Regions from separate parts of the Homo sapiens genome. Here all the other regions are linked to region 1. Evidence: promoter capture Hi-C in 16 types of primary human blood cells and fetal thymus (Javierre and others, 2016). All regions are on one chromosome and are shown on one strand. The core of a region is centred on a gene start or on the middle of the fragment in contact, and the rest is flanking DNA. Distances in the headings are between cores, read along the strand shown. Region 1 overlaps HSF1 (heat shock transcription factor 1). Region 2 holds the start of PUF60 (poly(U) binding splicing factor 60). Region 3 holds the start of PARP10 (poly(ADP-ribose) polymerase family member 10).

The links. Contacts are between HindIII fragments. The CHiCAGO score rates a contact against its expected background, and 5 or more counts as called.
Region 2: the fragment with the promoter of PUF60 here is called in contact with a fragment that was not itself captured in region 1 in 5 of 17 cell types (monocytes, M0 macrophages, non-activated CD4 T cells and 2 more); the score reaches 11.6 in monocytes.
Region 3: the fragment with the promoter of PARP10 here is called in contact with a fragment that was not itself captured in region 1 in 1 of 17 cell types (monocytes); the score reaches 8.6 in monocytes.

The regions. Positions count from the first base shown.
Region 1 is chr8:144,291,844-144,295,542 of GRCh38, forward strand. It overlaps HSF1 (heat shock transcription factor 1), which reads left to right. Exons shown (of 13, transcript NM_005526.4): 1 at 1-31. Among named protein-coding and RNA genes, the nearest start is that of HSF1, 2.1 kb to the left of the region's middle. RefSeq lists a silencer at 1-108 and enhancers at 240-896, 499-558. The HindIII fragment of the contact is 1,460 bases long and covers 530-1,989 here.
Region 2 is chr8:143,827,332-143,831,030 of GRCh38, forward strand. PUF60 (poly(U) binding splicing factor 60) reads right to left here and starts at 1,984. Exons shown (of 12, transcript NM_078480.3): 1 at 1,949-1,984. The coding sequence starts at 1,972. LOC107986985 (a long non-coding RNA gene) reads left to right here and starts at 1,949. Exons shown (of 3, transcript XR_001746138.2): 1 at 1,949-2,073; 2 at 2,515-2,707; 3 at 3,378-3,699. It also overlaps a transcript of NRBP2 not described here. RefSeq lists a silencer at 1,702-2,271 and enhancers at 2,056-2,755, 2,076-3,275. The HindIII fragment of the contact is 7,973 bases long and covers 1-3,699 here.
Region 3 is chr8:143,984,460-143,988,158 of GRCh38, forward strand. It overlaps PARP10 (poly(ADP-ribose) polymerase family member 10), which reads right to left and starts at 2,001. Exons shown (of 11, transcript NM_032789.5): 1 at 1,899-2,001; 2 at 1,596-1,774; 3 at 1,262-1,516; 4 at 953-1,189; 5 at 85-869. The coding sequence starts at 1,900. RefSeq lists enhancers at 1,664-2,103, 1,774-2,677. The HindIII fragment of the contact is 24,851 bases long and covers 1-3,699 here.

The DNA of each region.
Region 1 (3,699 bases), core at 10-2,509:
GGACACCGACGCGCTCATCTGCTGGAGCCCGGTGAGGGCAGCGCGCGGGCGCGGGGCCCGTGGGGACCGGGAGGGAGCAGGGCCGCGGCGGACGGCGCGGGAGGGCTGCGGGGAGGGGCCCTGCCGCACTTCAGCTTACGCGCGGTGAGCCTGCCCTGCCCCCGCCAGAGAAGGGCGGCGGGTCCCGAGCCTGCTCAGACCCAGAGCCTTAAGTTGGGAAAGCGGCTACGAGACCCACACTCGGTTCAACCCCTGCCCCAGCGAAGTTTCCCTGGGATGGGGAGAATGGGGCGTCTCTTGTATTGGGCTTCTGCTAACTGTTGGGCGGTTGCGGAAGTGTCCGCGCTTAGGGCAAGCACCCGGCTTCGCCAGCGGACGCTATGCCCCAGAGGACATCGGCGTCCCCAGGGGACAGCCTACGGGGTGCTGGGTCGGCAACTATTAGGAGAAAGTCAGGACTTGGCACGTGAAGTGGAGGGCGTTGCTGTAGTGGAACAGGAAAGGCAGTGGAAACAGTAAGACGTCATGAAGCTTCAGGTTGATCTCAAGCCCGTTTCCGAATCCCAAATCTGGGTTTCCCAAGAGGAGTTTTGTTTTTCATTCCTTATGGGGCATCTTTATTCGTGTTTCTGTCTTCAGTTGCCTGGCAGCAGGCTTGTTTACATGGTCCGACCCTGCAAGACCGGACAGCTCCGGTTTGCAGAAGTAAATCAGTGATTGTCTGGAGTTGGAGATCAGAATCTGCTGTTCACATCCCGGCTGTGACGTCGTGTCCGGTGAGGGGCAGAGCCACCGCCTGCGGCTGGCAAGTGATGACCTGAAGAAGGGCCACACTGGCCGAGTGGGGTGACTCTTGCTTGTAATCCCAGCACTTTGGGAGGCGGAGGCGGGTGGATCACTTGAGGCCAGGAGTTCGAGACCAGCCCGGACAATATGGCAAAACCCCAGCTCTACTAAAAATACAAAAAATTTGCCGGGCGTGGTGGTGCTTGCCTGTGGTCTTAGCTACTTGGGAGGCTGAGATAGGAGGACTCCCTGGACCTGGGAGGCAGAGGTTGCACTGAACCAAGATCCCGCCACTGCAGCCTGGCAAAGAGTGAGACCCTGTCTAAGAAAAAAAAGAAAAAAAAGAAAGGCCACTGATCATTGGGAGCTTTTGGAGGCACCGTGACCGGCAGGGTGCCACCAAGCATGTGTGGCCTCCCAGGAGCTAAGACCCCAGAGTTCTTCAGGCTCTGCTGAGTGCCTCCCATTTGCACAGCCTCTTTATGCTGTTAGGAATGAAGAAAAGTCTAAACTGAAGCTGCCCCAGGCAGGAGGCCAGGTTTTCTGCTTCTTGGGTTTACTGAGGCTCTGCTTTACCTACAGAGTGTTTGGAAATAAAGAGAAGACTGGAAATCTTTGCTCTTGTTAGAAACACTTTGTGTTTGTCCCGCTGACACCTCTGTGTTGGCCTTCCCATCCCCAGGTCCCATTAAGGCACAGTGCACCTTCCTGGAGGCTGGCTTCATTTCACCATCTCTTCATTCTAGACCTTGGATTCTTGTGCAAAGGAAATACTCCCATGTTTCTGTCTTCTTTTATCCGTCTTTTTCTTTTTTCTTTTTTTTTTTTTTAGACCGAGTCTTGCTCTGTCACCCAGGTTGGAGTGCAGTGGTGCGATCTCGGCTCACTGCGACCTCCACCTCCCGGGTTCAAGCAATTCTGCCTCAGCCTCCCGAGTAGCCAGGACTACAGGTGCGTGCTGCCACACCCGGCTGATTGTTGTATTTTTAGTAGAGACGGGGTTTCACCACATTGGACAGGCTGGTCTGGAACTCCTGACCTCAAGTTATCCACCCGCCTTGGCCTCCCAAAGTGCTGGGATTACTGGTGTGAGCCACTGCACCCAGCCCTTCTTCTTTTTCTTATTCCCCTTAATCCTCAGAAGTTAAGGGGAATAACTCCCCCATTGGGGGAGGGGCATCCGCGATTATCTGGGATATTCTAAGCTTAATCCTACTAGCGTGATCTGTCCTGTCCCGTAATCTGCTTGCTGTTTCTGCTTAAAGATTATGAGGCATGTGGGTTAGGGCCCAGTGTACCCTTTTTTGGGACCGAGGCATGTTCTGGGCAGGGCTTTTGAGCAAGGAAGGCAGGTGTGATGAGGCCCGTGGCCAGCCTCCACTCCACTCACAGGTGCACCACCTGTGGATCTGTTCTCCCTGGGGAGGGATGGGGAGCCAACTGGAATGTGAGTGTTTGGTTCCACCTGGTCAGTATGAAGTGGCAATGGTTGGTGCAGGACGTAGCACTGGGGGCGAGCATGGCAATGAGACAGAAACACTGACTTAAAACTGGAAGGAAGCCCTTCTCCAGGCCGCGCAGGGGGCTGCAGAGCTTTCCGGCGCTGGCTGCCTGGCCTGGAGAAAGGAGGTGATCATCCCATCCTGTGACTTTGAGAGCACTCACACAAGCCCTGAGGACTCCCTGTCAGCAGAGTCCCAACAGGGCACCCTCCCACAAATCTACTGCCCAGGCCCAGCTGGCTCTCGGAGGCCTTGAGAAGGCCCTGGTGCTCTTGCTCTCTGCTGCCTTCTCTGGGAGAGTCTCCTTCTGGCTCAGAGTCTTACCACCATTCTGCCAAGAAAAACCCTCCCTATTTGACACAAGAAGATGAGGCAGAATCACAGGCATGGTGACTAACTCTCAAGGCTGAATAACCTGGGGGAGACCGAGGCCCAGAAACTGGCCAGTAACTTTACTGAGCCTGGCCAGGAATGGGACCAGGTCTGGACCACCATTGCACGTCCCCTCCCTGGCCTGAGATCAGGACTCCCACTGCAGCCACTGGAGGCAGAATGCCGGGTCACTGCCCAGGAGACCCCATTGGTGGGGACTGTGGCAGCTACCCCATCCCTGTGTTGTTTGATTTCCCACCCCCCCCTCCCAAGACCCTCATTCCCATGAGCACCCCACCCACACAGGCAAGGGCCTTGAGGGGACCCAGCAAGTCGTGGAGGACAGCACAGCCTTGGAGAGGAAATGTGTCAGCCACAAGGTTATGATCCCGGGGATCCACATAAGAGCATGGGCGTGCACGTGGGTGGTCCTCCCTCAGCCAGCTTCTCAACAGCTTCTCCCAAAGGTACACCTGGATCCAGTACCACTGAGACCCAAAGACGGGGTTGGGGGACTGAATACCTGGACTGACAGGCACCTCCATAGAACTGAGACCCATGAGACCCGGGACCCGCAGCCTCCCTGCCCCGTGCCCTGGTGCCGGCCCTCAGCCCAGCTTCCTCGTCTGCATGCAGCAGCTCCTCTGTCCACCAGCAGAGGCTCTTCTAGGGCCTTGCTGGGCTGCAGCTGACTCAGGAGGGCAACAGCCTCTTCAGAGAATTTGACAGCATGGAGAACCAAACAAAAGCAGAAAGTGAAGCCTCAGAACTGGGTTCACCATCATCCCAGTTTTTTACAAGCTATGATTTTGTCCCATCTTTATTAACAAGATAAGGAAGTATGAAAAGTAATCTCGACATCTGAGATGGTGAGATTACAGCCCCAGGAGCCACCCAGCTGGCTGAGGAGCCTGAGAACAAGGCACAGCCACATGACCTGTGCCAGACAAATGCTAGAATGATGGTCACGCAGGTTAGAACGAACCCAGGTAGACGGAGGCCTCAGGATCAGGGTGAGGCCAGAGGGGGCACCTGGGTG
Region 2 (3,699 bases), core at 734-3,233, 460 kb before region 1:
TGAAGAGAACGGAGCCATGCGTCAAAGTGAAAAGATGCATCCAGAAGACCTACCCTTGCTGCAAAGAGGCAGCCGGCCTCATTCTGCAGCCACCAGGCAGAAGGCATGCCCATGGGAGGGGAGGCCCTTCTGCATCTTCTGGCTTCCTTCCCCACCAGGCCACTGTCAGCCAAGTTCAGCTGCTCCATTCAACCTCCCATGAGAGCTGAAGCAGCATGAGACAGGGGACAGGCTCTCATCACTGTGCCCAACCAGGACGGTGGGAACAGATAACCCTTCTAGAAGCCTTTCCATCCCAATGATTAAAAGAGGAATGGGTTAGACCACAGGCTACAGCTCACTCCTGGAGCCGGATGCAAGCCTGAAACCTGACGATAAAAAAACACGTATTAAACCCAACAGAATTTGGATGGCAACAAACACCCCAACAGACAACCCGTTCGTGGGGTCAGTTATGGCCCACGTCCAACTCAACAATGACACCACCTATCTGGCACCACGCCACAGCAGACCTGAGCCCCCATTTAACCCTCATGAGCACAGGGCGCTGTTCTGCGGGTGCTAGGGGAGTCAGGCATCCACTCTCCTCCTCCACCTTCCCATGTCCAGTCCTTGTCTCTGAGCCTCCTCCTCCTTCACCATCAACTCTCTGACTGCTGCCTGAAGACAGTCACCAGGTCCTCAACCCTTACATCCTTTCTCTCTGGAGTGCCCCTCAAAGGTCACTTACTCCTGTGGCTTCAAGAGAAAGGACATAGTAGAAAGAGTGGAGTTAGCCAGTCCTGTGAATCACACACTGGGCTGCCCTCGCAAGCTGGGTATCTTGTGTAAATGCCTCTCTCCCCCTAGTAACTGGTTTCTGCCTCAGTGGGACATGGGACCAGCCCGCCCGCTGGGGGCCTGGCAATGGCAGTCTAAGGACACTCCCTGGTCCTGCCAGTCCAGCCTTCAGCCATTTGCCCAAGCTGTCTTCTCAAACAGACCTTATCCCATCCCGCTGGGTGTGGGCTGGGGGAAGGGTGACAAGTAATACAGGGGTAAACTGCGGCTGAGAAAGGTCCAAAAGGGGATTAGGTCCTATAAGCTAAGTGGTGAGAAGGAAAGACCAGACTTCATCGTGCATGTGTTGTGTGCATGGGTGTTCTCCCTCTACGTTAATAACGCCTGCCCTGCCCGGGGAAGTGGGCACTGAGCAGAGCAGGGGGCGACTCACTCCTCTGGATGCCCACGCAGCTCCCTAGGGCGCCCAGCAAATGGCACCCTGGGTGGGAACTGGCTTCTGGTGCGCACTAGACCTCCAACTGCCTGTCTGGTTCCCCACTGCGTCCCCAGATCCTCCCGCAGAGCTGGGGACAATGCGATTTCTCAAAACACGTAGGATGAGAGCGCACGTCCTTCCTTTCCACGTGGAGACAAGAGAATGGAGATAACCAGATCCCTCTCCAGCACCGGAGAACGAATTCACAGCTGCAGGCGTAGTGAGCCAAGGCCGCCCCATGCTCTGAGCTGCAGGCCCCTTTCTACAGGTCCCGTCCCCTTCTGATCCCATCAACCCGAAGGCCCACGCGTCACCCCCAGAACCCCGCTTCCGTCGTGACCACGGCGCACACCCCCGTCGGCAAAGGGAGGACGACGACCCCCGCTTGCCGGACCTAGCGGACAGGAACGCAACCCCGCCAGGCTCGCCCGCAAGGGCCACACGCCGCGCCCAGGCCCCCGCCCCGCCCCGCCGGAAGCTGGGGTCCGCAGGCCGGAAGCTGAGGCCGCGAGCCGGCCGCCGGCGCGCGCCCGCCCCGCCCCCGCCTCACGCGACCCGGGGACACGAGGGAGTCCGCGCGGGACCTGGGAAGACCGCCGCGTTCTTGGGAGGCCCTCCGCGCCCAGGCTGGGTCGACGACCCGGCCCCGCAAGCCGAGGGCCGCCCGCGCTCATGGGGGGGCTCACTTACGAGAGCTATGGTCGCCGTCGCCATCTTGCGTCCGTCGCGGCCTCCGCGCGCGCCTCCCACTCTTGCTCCTTCCGCTGTCTCGCGCGATCTGGGTGCCGGTGCACGGAACTCTCGCGAGGAAGGAGGTAAGAACGCGCTTCCGGGGCGGGGAGGAACGGTAAACGCCCCCGGGAGGGGCGACGGAAGGGGCGTGCTCTTGGCCGGGCGAGGGGCGTGGCCCGCGCACCTCGGGCGTCTAGGGGCGTGCGCCGCGGGACTCGAGTCGGGCGTATCTCTCCGCGTGGCCGACGCGGGCGTGCGTAGTACCCTTCGCCGCCCGTCGCCCTTGCGGCCACTGCTACGCTTCTCTTCTCTGCCTTTTTTGGAGAAAACGCTGTCGCGTGCGTCGTCCAGAGGCTCTCCCCCAGGAGGCAGGCGAAAGAGCGGGGCCCTCCTGGGCTGGAGGAGTCTCGGGTGATGAAAGGCCCGCGTGTTTCAGGCTGACGTCGTGAGATGCGTCGTCCCCGCGTCGCGACATCCCTGGGACCGGGAGGCCCCGTTCAATTGGCAGCTTTTTCTCCTTCCAGGGAACCGATGACCCTAGGTTGGCTGACATCAGTCGCTAGACCCGCAGCCCGCAGGCCCCGTTAGTCCCTGAACTGGCTTTCATGGCCCAAGGTGTCTGTCAGTACTGCTGGGAAAGCTGCCTGTCCTGGACATTTGCCATCTGCTGCACCCAGTCCCGAGACCCCAACTCGGTCATCCGAAGAAGCCACATCTGTAAGCTCAGGCACCTTCAGCTGCCTAAGGCCACAAGGCATCCCGGGCAGGCCTCCTTTCAACCCTGGGAACATTTAGAATTTAATACAGACACTTCTACTTAAATAGGGCAGAATATTCCCCGCCTCCCTCCTGAAACCTTCCAAAATTATAGGAAAGGGGTTTTATAAAGACAAACCCTGCAAGGGCAAAGAGCTGGGATATTGCAGAGCTTAAGAAAGGTGGACAGCGAGAGCTACTCCAGCCCACTTGGCTATGGAGGCCAGTGTCTGAGGGTCGTGGGTGAAAGCACAGCTACAGAAAGGAAACCCCAGACCTCTGTCCCTACCCACCGGGGCTGGCAGGCACTGCAGTGTCTGAGACGTGAGCTCCAGGAGAGGAGCTCTGAGGCCCTGCTCAAGCAAGGCCCTGTCTGAAAGCCTGGGAGTAAGTGAGACTCTGGGTCCTACCCCTGCCTCCACCCCTGGGCTGGGTCTGACCACCCGCATGCCATCAGGCTTCTCAGAGAAGAGGGCTCCTCTCTGCAGCAGCTCCTAGCTCAAAAGAAAAGACTGGCAGGGCACCTAGGGGTAGAGTGTTGCCCAGTAGAATGGCCCAGCCAGATCCCTGGCCTCGAAGCTCACCAGGTCATAAGCCCCAGCCACTAAAAGCATCTCACTCTTCAATGCAGCTGGACAGCCCAGGATCACCAGACACCTGAGAAAGAAGAAAAGGGACTCAGAAGAAACAGAGACGATAAAGGAAGCCGAAGAAAAATGAAAACTAAAATGCCATTCTCAGTCAATAAAAAGGAACTGGGGGCTATAGAGAAAGAAACCTCGGGATGAGAAAGAGCTCTTAGAAATAAAACATGAGGGGAAAGTGAGCAATTCAATAGGCTTTTAAGATGAAGTCTTCCAGAATGTATAATGACAGAACCAGATAGCTGGAAAACAGAATAGCAGTAACACAGGTGGGTGCTCTTAGGGCTAGCCTGGCACACAAGGCCTCCA
Region 3 (3,699 bases), core at 751-3,250, 310 kb before region 1:
GCAGGTTTAGAGCACAGGAAAGGTACTTTGAGTCCCCAGTAGGAGGAGGGGGCTGAAGGTGAGGAGTCCTGAGGGGTCACTCACCCGAAAGCCAGTCATATCCGGTCCTTCAAGTGGCAAGAGAGCGACGTCTCCCAGGCCCGCAAGAAGGTCCTCATGGTAGAGCTGCAGGAAGCGCATCGCCCCTGGCTCCATCAATAGCACCATCTCCACCAGGCCCTCCTGCCCTGCCAGCTTCACACATCCTGGGCTCACAGGCCCTGCCTTCTCCAGAGACCCCATGGTGATCTCCATGGGACCCACCAGCCCCTCTTGCTCTGGTGAGTCCATGGCAATTTCCACCAGGCCCTCCTGCCCCAGCAACCCCTTAGAGGTCTCCACTGGGCCTGCAGACCCCACAGGCCCCAGGCTCATGGGCCCCTCCTGTTCCTGCAACCCCACAGGCCTCAGGCTTACCAGCCCCTCATGTTCCAGAGACCCCATGGGCATCGAGCTGACTTGCTCTGCCTGTCCCAGAGACCCCATGGGACCTGTCCTCAGAGAGGTCCCTGACTGCCCTGGTTCCTGGCCAGAGCCTGTTGTCATAATCCCTCTACCCTGCACCATGGGACCTGTCCTCAGAGAGGCCCCTGACTGCCCTGGTTCCTCGCCAGAGCCCATTGTCACAGTCCCTGCACCCTGCAGAGCCGTCACCAACCCTCCGGTCCTCAGGAGAGCATGCTTGGTAGCCCTAGGCCCCTGGGTGGACGGGTGGTCCCCTCCACTGGTGTTCTCAGCCAGCTCCTCGGGCTCCAGGATGTCGTAGTGGGGGACAAGGCTCAGCTCTGAGCCCTGCAACCGGTGCTCCTGCTGCAACACTCGTTCTGCCACTTGGAGGAAGGGAAAGGACAGAAAGCCTGTCAGATTTCTGCAGGAGAGGGACGGTCGGCTGGGTCTGCCCAGCCCCACTCACCTTGCCACTGCTGGAAGGAGGCAACAGTGCCCAGGGGCCCGGGTAGGCGTTGCAGGTCCTCCAGGGGCCCCCCACCACTGCGGCGCTCATTCTCCAGGTACAACTCCAGCAACAGCAGGTCCACAGAGGCACCATCCCCCACCACACGCACCGCTCGGGCCTGGGGAACCCGGGCCAGGGACACCAAGGTCCCCTCCAGGCCCAGATTCTGGGCCTGCTCCTCCAGGACACGGACATCTGTGGGGTATGTGCAGGTCAGCTCAGGGAATCCCCCCTAGCCAGCACCTCAACCCCAACCCTGCCTCTCACCTGCCTCAGAAAGGGGCTTGGGCAACTGGACCAGAGCCCGGTCTGGCCGGGGGCTGGCCAAGGCACAGCAAGGCTGTACTGGGAGCCCCGAGGCCCGCAGCAAGGCCTGGACATGCTGCTCCAAGCGCTGGGGCGTGGTGCCAGGGGGCAGTCCTTGGAGCAGCAGGCGTGCAGGGGCTCGTGGTGGAGCTGGCCGCAGGCTCAGCTGGGCACCATGTAGTTCGTGATCTGCCTGGGCCAAGACCCTCTCGGCGTCTGTGGGCAGGGGCGGGGCAGGATGTCAGGCATTAGAATATCAGGGCACCCAGGCTGTCCCTTCAGCCAGCCCTCTCACCTGCAGGCTCTCTGAAGGTGAGGACGCCCCCACAGCCCAGTCTCTGCCAGCTCAACACAGGTCCCCCTCCAGAGCGTCGGCGGTTTTCAAAGTAGAGAGTGAGCAGCTCGTCGGGCACGGCAGGGGGCAGTCCACGGACCTCCACTGCCACCCCTGCCTCTGCCTCCGCCATTGCAACCCTGGGACGGGGCATCAGGTGGGTAGGGAAACAGCCCATTCCACCCCTCCTGCCCCTCCCCAGGCCCCTCCAAGGTGTGTCCTCAATGCTCCCCCATTATGGGTGGCCCCACATACAGCACTTACATTCCCCGTGGCCGCTAGGCAGCCTCAGGCCATGAGCTCAGCCAGGACTCCTGTGCCTGCCCCTCAGCAAGCCTAACCCTGCTGGGAGCAGGAAAACAAAAGTGAAACTGAAAGACGGAAGGAGGGAGGGAGCAGCTGGGCCCTGGGCGCTGAGGCCTGGGTACTGGGGCTCAGATGCTTCCTCTCCTGCTGCAGCCTCAACCCCCAGCTGACCAGGAGGTATTGGCCAGGCTGGACCCCTCAGGACCCTCCAGCCAACCCAGCCCAGCCCACCGGCCCTACCTGGCCCACTCCAGCCCCTGGTTGGCAGGGTAGACAGGAGTGTCCCCTGGTGGCCCTCCACTCCCCTGGCCTCCATGGCCTGAAAATGGCCAATCACCCGCCCCACTAAACCCACCAAGGGGCCTGAGTCACTGCCCCTCACTCAGGATCTCCAAGCCTCTGTGTCCATGACACCCTCTGCACACAAAGTGCTGGGTCTCCAGGCCCGCCCCCGGCCAAGGCTGGCCTTCAACGCCCCCAGCAACCTTCTCAACCCTGCTCCTGGTCCCTCACACCTGCCAGGTGCTGAGCATGGGCGGTTCCCCACCCTTGGTCTCCAAGAATGTGCATTGCAGCACAGCCTTCCTCCCGCCTCAGGTCTTGCCTGCCCATTCCTGCAGCTTTCTGTCCTGCCTGCACCTCCCCATCTCACACCATCATTGGCATCGTCACAAGTAACCTCAGAAGGTGACAAGGTAATGGCTCCACTGCATTCCTTGCTGCCGCTAATCCTCACCACAGAAAGGGAAACGGAGGTGCAGACAGGCCCATAGCAGCACCAGGCCTCAAACCTGGGCGGTGCCTTCAGAGTCCACACTCCCACTCGCCACAGATCTCCCACATCACCCAAGCTCCGTTTGCTTCCAGCCTTTCAAAGAGCTGTGGCCACTACCACTCTCCATCTCCTACTTCCCACTCACCCCTCAGCCCACCAAAACCCAGCCCCACCCCTGCTGTTCCTCCCTCCAGGGAGCTGAGGACCCTGGCCAGCCTGCACTCCTAGCCCTGCACATGCCACACCTCTGCTGCCCCGACCCTGGTCCCAGCCTCCAGCATCTCTCGCTAGGTAGCTAGGCTAACCTCTTAACTAGTCTCTGTCTGCCACTCCCATGGTGGGTCCTCAACAGAGGTGTCAGGGTGAGCCTTGTAAAATGACACCAGCAGCTGCTACAGCTCCCAGCATCAGCAACAGTAGAAACCAAAGTCCTGGGGGCCGGGCGCAGTGGCTCATGCCTGTAATCCCAGCACTTTGGGAGACTGAGGCAGGTGGATCACGAGGTCAGGAGTTTGAGATCAGCCTGGCCAACATGGTAAAACCCTGTCTCTACTAAAAATATAAAAATTAGCCGGGCATGGTGGCAGGTGCCTATAATCTCAGCTACTCAGGAGGCTGAGTCAGGAGAATAGCTTGAACCTGGGAGGTGGAGGTTGCAGTGAGCTGAGATCGTGCCACTGCACTCCAACCAAGGTGATAGAGTGAGACTCTGTCTAAAAAAAAAACAAAAACCCAAAGTCCTTTTGAGGACCTGCCCCCTGCCCAGCTGCACCTGACCAGACCTCAGTCCCTTCTCTGGCCCCATGCCCCCTGCACACCCTGATGCTCAGAGGGCTCCAGGCTCTCAGCTCTTCCTGCAGAGCTACAGGCCACTCCTGCCTCAGTAGCCTGGGACTGGCCCTTCCCTCTGCTTGGCCCTACCTTCCCCACAAACCCCCATGGCCACCCCTCTGGCATGATCTCCCTTACTCTGCCTTTTTTTTT